Linked DNA regions of Homo sapiens: region 2 is linked to region 1. The links are contacts of gene promoters, found by promoter capture Hi-C in human tissues and cell types (Jung and others, 2019). All regions are on one chromosome and are shown on one strand. Each heading gives the region's core, a stretch centred on a gene start or on the middle of the fragment in contact. The rest is flanking DNA. Distances are from core to core; before and after follow the strand shown. Region 1 holds the start of INSL6 (insulin like 6). Region 2 overlaps PLGRKT (plasminogen receptor with a C-terminal lysine).

Region 1 (5,751 bases), core at 2,194-4,693:
ATGTGAGGAATGCACATGAGTATTATGCAGTAGTTAGAAGCAATGGACTAAATGTTCACATAGCAACAATAAGATATAGATCTTAAATGCCTTTTAGATATATCTTAAAACATATGAACAGGAAAGAATGCATAATTTGCAAAAACTTATAAAAACAAAAAATATATAATAAACACATTACAACAATTGCCAAGGAGAGGAGGAGAATGGGAGTGGAGAAAGGGGCTAAGTGAGGATAATCACCTTCTGTAAATTATAATTTACTTATGTTAATTGTCTATCTTTACTATTCTGTAGGCTTCATGAGGGTAGGAGCCTTCACCGTTTACTCTAACATCCCAATCACCAAGAAGAGTGCCTAACACATGATAGGTACTCAAATTTTGTTGAACTAATATATAAAGAGAAGGGCCCTTTACAGACTAGTTGTGATGATATCTGAAACATAAAGAAACAAAAAAAACAAGAATATGTGACATGAAGACTAAGAATATGGGAATATGATTAATCTAACTGGAATAGGGGTTACAGATTATGAAAAGCTGATTTTGAAACATTAATGATTTCACCTGGCACTAATATCTCGGAAGCACAATACTCAGTCGTAATTTAGAAATATGATGTCAACTTCATGGTGCCACATTACGGGGTAGGTCTTGGAGATACTGCCTCCACCTTCAGGGTCCATTAACAAGAAGCACACAATTACAGATTCAAGATATGTATAAGTAGCTTTGAAAAAAAGCATTTTTTAATAGCAGCGTAGCAAATTATATTTTTCTGTGTCAGACTCAAGTAGATCATCAGGATATTAAAATTTCAGACAACTGACTTGATCTAACACAACAACTTGTCCTGCTGGTAAAAGTGAAATAAAAAGTAATCAACTTTCCAGCCATATTCATATATAAAAATGATGTCATAATTATGTATTCTATATTAGAAACATATACATCTCTGCAACTTCTAAATTATTTCCTAGAAATTAACAGGACAGAATAAATGTCATCTTCCCTTATAGATTAATAATTTTTAAAATTATAATACAATTCATGTTGATAACCTAACCCATTTTTCCTTCCTCTACATATTTCAATACAACTGTGGTTTTACTGTTACATAGTATTTCCACTTCAGCAAACTGTCTTTTACATAGTTTCCATAGTAGCAGGTTTTGTGGGTATAACAATTTTCAAATATTTTCAGATACATTTTTATTTTCTACAAGTCTTGTTTCATTGCAGCTTCCTGCTCATTATTAATGACATTTATTCTTCCAGGGGAGTGTGAATAATACTTAAAACAAAAGGATCATTAACAAGCTGAGTTTTAAGGTTGAACATTTTTATTAAGAAAACTGTCTTTAGAGCACTTTGTTGAGAAAAGGCATTCCAACCTCTCTTTAAATAACAGCCTCAAGCTTGGAGGTCTAAAAATAAAATTTTGACTACAGTATTATAGCATAGGTAGTGAAAGCACAGTATTTGATGTGAGAGAAATGCCCACCCAACATAAAGCAGAAAGGGAAGGCTCTCCTTGCACTCCTGGGAGAAAAGAACAAGAAAGAGGAGTTTAAAAGAAAAAAAAAAGAGAGAGACAGACAGTAAACTGGACCTTGTTACTCAAAAGTGTGGGCCACGAACTAGCAGCACCTGGGAGCTAGTTAAAAACGAAAAATATCAGGCCCCACCCCAGGTCTACTAACTCAGAGTCGGTAAATTAACAGGATTCCCAAATGATTCATATGCACATTAAAGCGTGAGAGTCACTGAACTAAAGTAAAAGTAGAAGACTGGGGAGAGACACTTCCTTCATTATAACAGAAGGACAAGGTGAGGTTTGTATGTGGGTTAGTTTGATGGGTCGGTTTGAAAATGATCATGAATCAGTCTCATGGTTTCTGTCTTTAAAAGTTTTTATTCTTTCAGCAACAGTGACTTTATAAATTCTATTCATTCATTCCAAAAAAGCTAATGAGTGCCTACAATGTGCATTGTTTGACTTTTTTCAGTCCTCTACATTAGGGTCTCTTTTTGGCATGATAGTTTACTCATTTCCTTAATTTCAGAAATCTTCACTTTTACAAGATTTGTCCAAATCAAATCAACTGAATTACTGTAAAAGGCAGTAATCTTCTTCCTATGGATACACTATAAACAAAGTGCAATTTCTTTTAAAATGACAAATCATACTGGGACTAAAATGTCTTAGTCACAAAATGTAAAAACATAGTAAGATATACCAATGAATCTGGAACAAGAATATCCTTCCTGCAGACTGCTTGAAAGCATCAAGTATAAATTCAGCGCATATTAAACACATGCGATGTGCTAGGCCATCTGCTAAGCATTTCAGACAAAAATATGCATGAAATAGTCCCTATAATACAGTATGGTATATAGGGCTGACTTTATGGGACTGAAACCTATGTAGTCACACAGGCCTTGCATTTGGTTTAAATGTTCCTTTGTTGTTCTGAATAAATTTACCTTTGAAACTTTAAGTGAATGAAATACAAGTACGTAAACTCTTAAATGAAGCCTGATAGGAGAACGGACCAGGCCTATCTCCTGGTACGTGACCAGGGGATATGGACAAGTAAGGAAAACAGTTTTATATTTTACTACCTTTATTTTCATGGCCCTTTCCTGCTTTTTTGAACAAGGTACTCTGCATTTTTATCTTCTACAAGGTTGGGCTGATTCTGTAGCCAATGACGACAGTCAAATACAACTATGTGCTAGATACTGTGGTAGAAAGGACAATGGAGCCATTGGCCATGAAAAGGTCAATGATGACTTCACAGGGAAAATGATACTTAAGTTGGGCTTTGAAGGACAAAAAGGAGTTTGCCAGATGACTGGCACTCCAGAAAAGAACAACATTCTTACATAAATATGTAGACTTACAAGTGTACATTTATTTCCTCCAAGTTAAAAAAAAAAGCGCTTCATTGAAGTTTTGTATATTTTCAATACACTGTTTTTTACAATTTTTTAAAGAGCTGTGTACTAGGCACAAATTCCACTTCCTGGGGAAGCTCACCTTCTGGCAGAGCAAATGCAGGAATAAGAAATATACAGAGGTGAACAAACATGCCTTCGGTTTCGATTTTTACCTGGGTTTGTGCCTCTTCCCCGGGCCGGGGAAGCGGTTTGCGGGCTTTCGAACTGGTATGGGCTGTAGGCTTCGACCTTCTCCGAGGCCTGTGCAATCAACCGTGAGAAAGGGGTTTCCTCCTCGAAACGGAACTGGCTCCAGTTGGCATGGCCGCAGAGTTTTTCTATTTCTTTCACCAAGTACCTGCCGCACAGCTTCCTGGCACTGCTGATGTCGCTCAGTTCACGAGAAAACCGAACCAGCAGGAGTCCAAGCCACAGCAGGGACAAGCGGAGGAGCCGCGGCATCCCTGTGACCCCAGGCTAGTCCTCCGCGTTGTGCAATGGCGGTCGGCCGGACCCTGCTCCCTGTCTGCGCCTGCGCCAGGCCGAGCGGCGCGCACAAACACTGCGGAATTCCGAGCGCGTGGGGGCGTCGCCAGAACTTCAAGGGAAGGCGCGCGCCGGCTGCGTCAAGGCTTTCCCGCCAGCTCAGGGGTCTCAGGTGGTCGAAGGTAGCAGGCCCTGGCTCCTAAAATGAAAGCCAAAAATCCCCTCACTACCCCGCCACCCCCTAGTTTGATTCATTTTTCTTTCCTTCCTCAATGGGAGATTCCTCACCAAGCGTGAGAACATAGGATCCCTGTTACCTGATAACGTAGGTTAAAAAGTGTTGCTCCCTCCACCTGGAATGCGTTTCTCGTTCTTGTTTGCCAGGTTGTTAATAAAGCTTCGTCTCCCTCACAGAAACCCCCTGTCATCTCTTTCACGGTGTTAATCGACCTGTTTCCATTTGTGGGCGTGTAACCTCTTTCCTGAGACCCCCGCTTCATGAAGGCAAGGGCCTGCGTCTGTTCTTGCTTTCCATCGTACCCCGGGATCTGGCATTTAGCTGGCAATCAAATATGTGGTGAAACGTTTAAGTGTTGCATATGGCCATGTGCGTTTAGTCAGGTTCAAAGCTTCTTCAGAAAAATCCTACTGGTTCACAGGGAGGCATGGGCCTTAGCCTCAATCTCCAGAAAAAAGAAGTAGGGACGCTGTCTTGAGGTACCTGGGATGGAAATCTGGTTCTTTCGGTTAGATAATGTAGAGGATTGTGTATTACCAAATTAACTTGTGACAGGGACCCCTAGAGGATTTGCCTTGTAAGAATAACAGCATGCAGCATGAAATGCTCATTTAGGTGAGATAATTTTGCTCAGTTAGGAGGGAAGGGGCAGGGAAGCGAAGCGCAATCGGCATAGGTAGCTTTATCATTTTAAATGAAGTTCTGTGTTACTAGTGTGTTGGCGTGGAAGGATGTACTATCGGCCACAAGAGGGCATTCGGTGGCTGTCTCAGGAATAAGGTTCAGGATGCTGAAGCCACAGGTGCAAGCTTATCAGTGATCTCACCATTTCCCTATACAATTTTATTTTTTTCTCCCTTTCTTTTCTGTCTTCTGACTCTATGTCTTTTTCTTAATTTTCCGTTTCCCTATCTTTTCCCTGCTTCCCAGTGGCATCCATGAATGCTGTTAAATTAACTGCCAATTGGATTTTTTAAATGGTTGATATAATATAGATTAGTAAAATTTAATCACCTTCCTTAAAAAATAACTTATGTCCAAACTATAGTGGGCCATGAGTCCTAGTCAGAACTTTATCAGGTAAGGTTTTTGAGAACGGAAAATATTAATCATACTGAGATGAATGTAAGCCTTGTGGTAACCACAAGGCAAAACCTATAGTAGATATATAAAAGATAAAAAAGAAGAAATCAAGCATACCACTACAGGATATCATCTAATCACAAAGAGAACAAGAGAAAAAGAAAAGAACAAAGGATCTACAAAATAACCACTAAACAATTAACAAAATGCAGTAGTAAATTCTAACCCATCAATAACTACTTTGAATGTAAATGGATTATGTTCTTTGATCAAAAAACAGGGCTGAATGGATAAAAAAAAAAAGACTCAACTATATACTGCCCACAAGAGACTCATCAAAAGACTTGAACTATACTTTGGAACAAGTGGAGCTAACAGATATTTATGGGACATTCCATCCAACAGCAACAGAATACGCATTCTTCTAAAATGCACAGAGAACATTCACCAGAATAGATCATATGTTATGCTACAAAGCAAGTCCTAATAAATTTAGAAGAATAAAATAATATCAAATATCTTTTCTGGCCACAATGGAATGAAAGTAGAAATCAATAAAAGGAGGAACTTTTGAAAACTCACAAATATGTGGAAATTAAAGAACATGTTCCTAACTACCAGTGGGTCAAAGAAGAAATATAAAGGGAGTTTAAAAAATATCTTGAGACAGGCTGGGCTCAGTGGCTCATGCCTGTAATCCCAGCACTTTGGGAGGCTGAGGTGAGTGGATCACTTGAGGCCAAGAGCTCAAGACCAGCCTGGCCAACATGGTGAAACCCTGTCTCTACTAAAAATACGAAAAATTAGTCAGGTGTGGTGGCAGGCACCTGTAATCCCTGCTGCTCAGGAGGCTGAGGCAGGAGAATGGCTTGAACCTGGGAAGCGGAGGTTGCAGTGAGCTGAGAGGGCATCACTGCACTCCAGCCTGTGTGACAGAGTGAGACTCCATCTCAAAAACTCCAAAATGGAAACACAACATACCAAAATTTATGGTATGCA
Region 2 (5,751 bases), core at 2,134-4,633, 220 kb after region 1:
TGCAGCACTATTCACAATAGCAAAGACATGGAATCAACCCAAATGCCCATCAATAACAGACTGGATAAAGAAAGTGTGGTACATATACACCATGGAATACTATGCAGCCATAAAAAGGAACAAGATCATGTCCTTTGCAGGGCAATGGATGAAGCTGGAAGCCATTATCCTCAACAAACTAACGCAGGAACAGAAAACCAAACACTGCATGTTCTCTTATAAGTGGGAGGTGAACAATGAGAACACATGGAGACAGGGAGGGGAACAACATTCACTGGGGCCTGTTGGGGGAGGGTGGGCCAGGGGGAGAACATTAGGGAAAAGAGCTAATGCGTGCTGGGCTTAATACCTAGGTGATGGGTTGACAGGTACAGCAAACCACCATGGTACACGTTTGCCTATGTAACAAAATGCACATCCTACACATATACTCTGGAACTAATAAAAACCTACATATTGGCTACGACACACTACTCAGGTTATGGGTGCATTAAAATCTCAGAATTCACCACTATAGAATTCATCCATGTAACCAAAAACCACTTGTACCCAAAAGCTATTGAAATTTTTAAAAATATTAAAAATAAAAATGAAGTTAAGGTATAAGGTCTACAGTTGCAGCTCTCACTGTGCTTTTTGTTTGTGTACATTATAGAATAAAATGTAATTGCAGAGTGTTTCAGGAAAGAAAAATCACCCATAGTCCCTCACTTTTATATTGCTTTTAAAACTTTGAGGTCTTCATGTATAAAATTTTCTCAAAGTAAATATTTCTTCAAATTAATATTTTTACTTTGGAGTACATAATTTTATTCTATAATTTGGCATCTAAAACATGTACAATGATTGACAATCAAATGAATGTTCTCATATATAACAAAAATTCAGATGCTAAATGACAAAATTATCTTACCATAATAAATAAAATCCTAACCCAATGGCCCCATATTGCTAATTTGTCTTCAGTAAATATACTTGAACTGAACCTACCCATGAACTTAAACTGACATCACTAATTTTTCATACACACAAAGAAAACACCAAATTTGTGTTTATTGAACATAATCTAAATTGTTCTTCTTCCAAGGAAAGCACTATGTGATATAATTTGAAACACTTCAGAACATTTAATTATTATAGAACTTCTGAACCTTGTGTTTTTATCTTTATAACCTTATTGACTAGCACAGGGCCTGGCATATTGTCAGGGCTTTAAAAAGTGTTGAGTAAATAAATTAGTATTACAATATTCTATTTGGGGTTCTATCCATAACATAAACATGTCTGATTACACCTCTAGACAGCATTCTAATGTTGTTCTTACAAATTTTTCAAAAAAAAAAAAATTCTGAAGCATTGCTTTGCAAATCCACACCTAAAGTGATAACTCAAGAACAGGAGAAGTGGAGAATTTGGAGACTTTACCCTAAAAACCCTAGGAACCAAGTTAGATAGGATCTTGAAATAATTGGCTTAAAAATAGTAACATTTGACCTTAAAACCATAATTTTAAAAGAAAAGCAAAATGCTATTGCCACTCTTAATTGCATCTGTAACTATGTGTGTGTGTGTCTGTGTGTGTATGACTGATATTAGCATTTAATGCTGCCATTTTCAAGTACTACTACAAAGGTTTAGTGTTTCATTGCCTAATCTGTATATAGACAACTCTATTGTAAGTCCAGGACATGGAATTTAACAGAAGCCCACCAAAGACATGTAGAAATTTTCTCTGAGGGAATAACTGGTCTAAATTTGGAGGGGCAAGAAAAAAAGTTTTATTTTAGATTATATTTTGCTATAAAATCATATTATCTTGTTCACACTGAAAGTGGCTTTCGAACTGTGAAATGGGCAGAGGTTGGAAGAGTGTGGAGGGCTCAGAGGAAGACAGAAGGATGACGGAAAGTTGGATCTTCCTAGAGACTTGCTGAATGGTTGTGACCCAAATGCTGATAGTGATATGGACAGAGATGGCCAGGTGGATGAGGTCTCAGATGGAAATGAAAAACCTATGGGAAGCGGAGCAGTCACTTCTCTTAAGCTTTAGCAAAGAGCCTGGCTGCACTGTGCCCCTGCCAAGGGATATGCGCAACTTCGAGCTTGAGAGTGATGATTTACGGTATCTGGTGGAAGAAATTTCTAACCAGCAAAACATTTGAGATGTAGACTGGCTGCTTCTAGCAGCCTAGGCTCATATGCACAAGCAAAGAAATGACCTAAAACTGGAACTTATATTTAAAAGGGAGCATAAAAGTTTACAAAATTTGTAGCATAGCCATGTGGTAGAAAAGAAAAGCCCATTTCTGGGTGAAGAATTCAAGCAGGCTGCATCAATTTGCATAAGTAAAGAGGAGCCAAGTCTAATAGTCAAGACAATAAAGAAAAGGCCTTGAAGACATTTCAGAGACCTTTGCAGCAGCCCCTCCCATCACAGGCCCAGAGGCCTAAGAGGACAGAATGGTTTCCTGGGCCAGGCCCAGAGCCCCACTTCCCTGCACAGCCTTGGGACACTGTTCCCCCACATCACAGTCACTCCAGCTCCAGCTTCAGGTCAGATACAGCTCAGATACAGATACAGCTCTGGTCACTGCTTCAGAGGGTGCAAGCTGTAAGTCTTGGCAGCTTCCATGTGATGCTAAGCCTGTGAGTATGCAGCGGATAAGAGTTGAGGCTTGGGAGCCTCTTCCTAGATTTTGGAGGATGTATGGAAAAGTCTGGATGTCCAGGCAGAAGCCTGCTGCAGGGGGAGATTCCTCATGGAGAACCTCTATTAGAGCAGTACAGAGGGGAAATATGGGGTTGAAGCCCCCACAAAGATTCCACTGGGGCACTGTGATGGTTAATACTGAGTGTCAACTTGATTGGATTGAAGGATGCAAAGTATTAATCCTGGGTATATCTGTGAGGGTGTTGCCAAAGGAGATTAACATTTAAGTCAGTGGGTTGGGGAAGGCAGATCTACCCTTAATCTGGATGGGCACCATCTAATCAGCTGCCAGTGAATATAAAGCAGGCAGAAAGACGTGAAAAGGTTAGACTGGCGTAGCCTCCTGGCCTACATCTTTCTCCCGTGCTGGATGCTTCCTGACCTTGAACATCGGACTCCGAGTTCTTCAATTTTGGAACTCGGACTGGCTATCCTTGCTCCTTAGCCTGCAGATGGCCTATTGTGGGATCTTGTGATCGTGTGAGTTAATACTTAATAAACTCCCCTTTATATATATACCCAGAGTGGTAGATCCACTGACAGCTCAGACCCTGCTCCTGGAAAAGCCACAGACACTCAACACCAGCCCATGAGAGCAGTTGTGGGGGCTGAACCTTGCAAAGCCACAGGGATGGAGCTGCCCAAAGCCTTGGGAGCCCATCCCTCACACCAGTGTGCGCTGGATGTGGGACATGAAGTCCAAGAAGATCAGTTTGGAGCTTTAAGGTTTAATGACTGCCCTGCTGGGTTTTAGATGCATGGGGCCTGTAGCCCCTTTATTTTGGCCAAATTCTCCTATTTGGAATGAGAGTGTTTACCCAGTGTATCTTGGAATACCTCCAATGTATCTTGGAATAATGAAATTCTAACTTTTTTTTCCAGAAACATTCTAAGGCATGGCTTTTCAAATTCTTATCTAAGAACAAGCATAGGAGAAGTGGGACCTGGAGAAATTTTTACCTTTAAAAACCCTAGAAACCAAGCATATAAGATGATAAAATGATTGCTTTTAAAATAATAAAATAATATTTTGACTTTAAAACTTTATTTTTAAAAGCAAGAAAAATTGCTATTACTGGCCTTAATTGTACCTATTCATTTTTCTATTTGTGACTGAAATAAGCATTTAAGGTGATCATTTTCAAGTATAAAAGTTTACACTACATTATACAATCTGTGCAATCAACCTCACTATAAACTCAAGACATAGAAATTAACAGAAGTGGGTGGGCACAGTGGCTCATGCCTGTAATCCCGGCACTTTGGGAGGCTGAGTCAAGTGGATCACTTGAGGTCAGGAGTTTAAGACCAGCCTAGGCAACATGGTGAAACCCCCATCTATACTAAAAAAAAGTTCAAAAATTAGCTGACATGCTCACTTGAACCCAGGAGGCAGAGGTTGCAGTGAGCAGTGGGCCAAGATCGTGCCACTGCACATCAGCCTGGGTAACAGAGCAAGACTCTGTCTCAAAAAAAAAAAAAAAGGAAAAAGAAAGAAAAAAGAAAAAGAAATTAACAGAAGTCACCAAAATCATGTTGAAATCATAATTAAGGCAATAAGCAGTTTAAGCAGGCAGGGTTGGGAAAATTATGTTTTAGATTATGCTTCTCTATAAAAAATGAATTAATTTGTTCATACTGAAACTTTGTCTAACACTATTGTCTGTTGCATAGCTCTTGGAATAAGGCAGATCCACAGTAGAAAATTAAAACGTTTCACTTCTAGTACAGGTTTATGGCCTGTACCACAGAGAAAGATTAGAAATGGCATCAGTATATCAAATAAGCGTTTACAAATGAACAATAAAATTTTGTCTCCATTTTTTAAAGCACAGCCTTTTACCTTGAGACCAATACACAACACTCTAGATGAAATAAATCAGCATTATTTACTTCAGCTTGATATAATATTAATTGTTATATGGCTAAACAAAATGGGTATTTGTATGATAATATTTAGCTTAACTTACTCTCTGGTTATGTATATAATGAAACTAGAGATGAAAGAAAAAATGGAGTAGTCATCATGAGCAAATAAGAGAAAAGAAAGCAGACAAGAAAAGATGGAAACAGGCCAGTTGCGGTGACTCACGCCTGTAATCCCAACACTTTGGGAGGCCGAGGCAGGTGGACCACCTGAGGTCGGGAGTTTGAGATCAGCCTGGCCAATATGGTGAAACCCCGTCTCTACTAAAAATACAAAAATTAGCCGGGCCACAGTGGCATGCGTCTATAATTCCAGCTACTCAGGAGGCTGAGGCAGGAGAATCACTTGAACCTGGGAGGCAGAGGTTGCAGCGAGCCAAGGTTATGCCACTGCACTCCAGCCTGGGAGACAGAGCAAGACCCTGTTTCAAAAAAAAAAAAAAAGAAAAGAAAAGAAAAGAGGGAAACACTATTGAGCATCTACTCTGCTACATGAACCAATTCTTGGGTATCCTTCTCCCCATCTTAGAGATGAAGAAGCCAGACTCAGAGAGCCTGTGTCACTTATCCATGGTTACTGAACCAGTAAGTGATAGAGTCAGGTTCGGACACAGGTATATGTGACTCCAAAGCCTGTGAACCTGCAAGTGCACACAAAGAAGAATGAATCCACAGCCCTCAGTAGCCATACCATGACGTTAAGCCACTGCTAACACATCCTCTTGCTGGCTAGGTAAGAAATCCAACTATAAGAATATATTTCCAATTACTGACAAGATATTACAGTTTTAAATTTAACTTAAAATTTCATTTTTTCTTTAGTTTAGCCTACAGTTTATTTATAAGCTTCTGGAAGACATTAAAATAGACTTAAACAAATGGAAAAACATTTCCTATTCTTGAATAAAATGACTCAATAGTTCTTCACAAATAAACTTATAAGTTAATACAATCCCAATGAAAAATATCAACAGACTATTTTATACTTGGGCATGTTGATACCAAAATTTCTGTGGAAAATCAAACATGAAAGATTATCCAAGAAAACATTGAAAAAGAAAAACTACAATGGTATAGTAGCCTCAACAAGCATTAAACCATACTAAAAAGTGTCT

Evidence for each region. The method cuts DNA at HindIII sites, captures the fragments that hold promoters and counts their contacts. A contact is called where the count stands out against the background at its distance.
Region 2: a fragment that was not itself captured here is called in contact with the fragment with the promoter of INSL6 in region 1 in 1 of the 25 tissues and cell types used here (lymphoblastoid cells).

What each region holds. Positions count from the first base shown.
Region 1 is chr9:5,182,196-5,187,946 of GRCh38, forward strand. It overlaps INSL6 (insulin like 6), which reads right to left and starts at 3,444. Exons shown (of 2, transcript NM_007179.3): 1 at 3,119-3,444. The coding sequence starts at 3,407. The HindIII fragment of the contact is 6,352 bases long and covers 1-4,269 here.
Region 2 is chr9:5,406,320-5,412,070 of GRCh38, forward strand. All of the region lies in intron 3 of PLGRKT (plasminogen receptor with a C-terminal lysine), which reads right to left. Among named protein-coding and RNA genes, the nearest start is that of PLGRKT, 29 kb to the right of the region's middle. The HindIII fragment of the contact is 4,898 bases long and covers 935-5,751 here.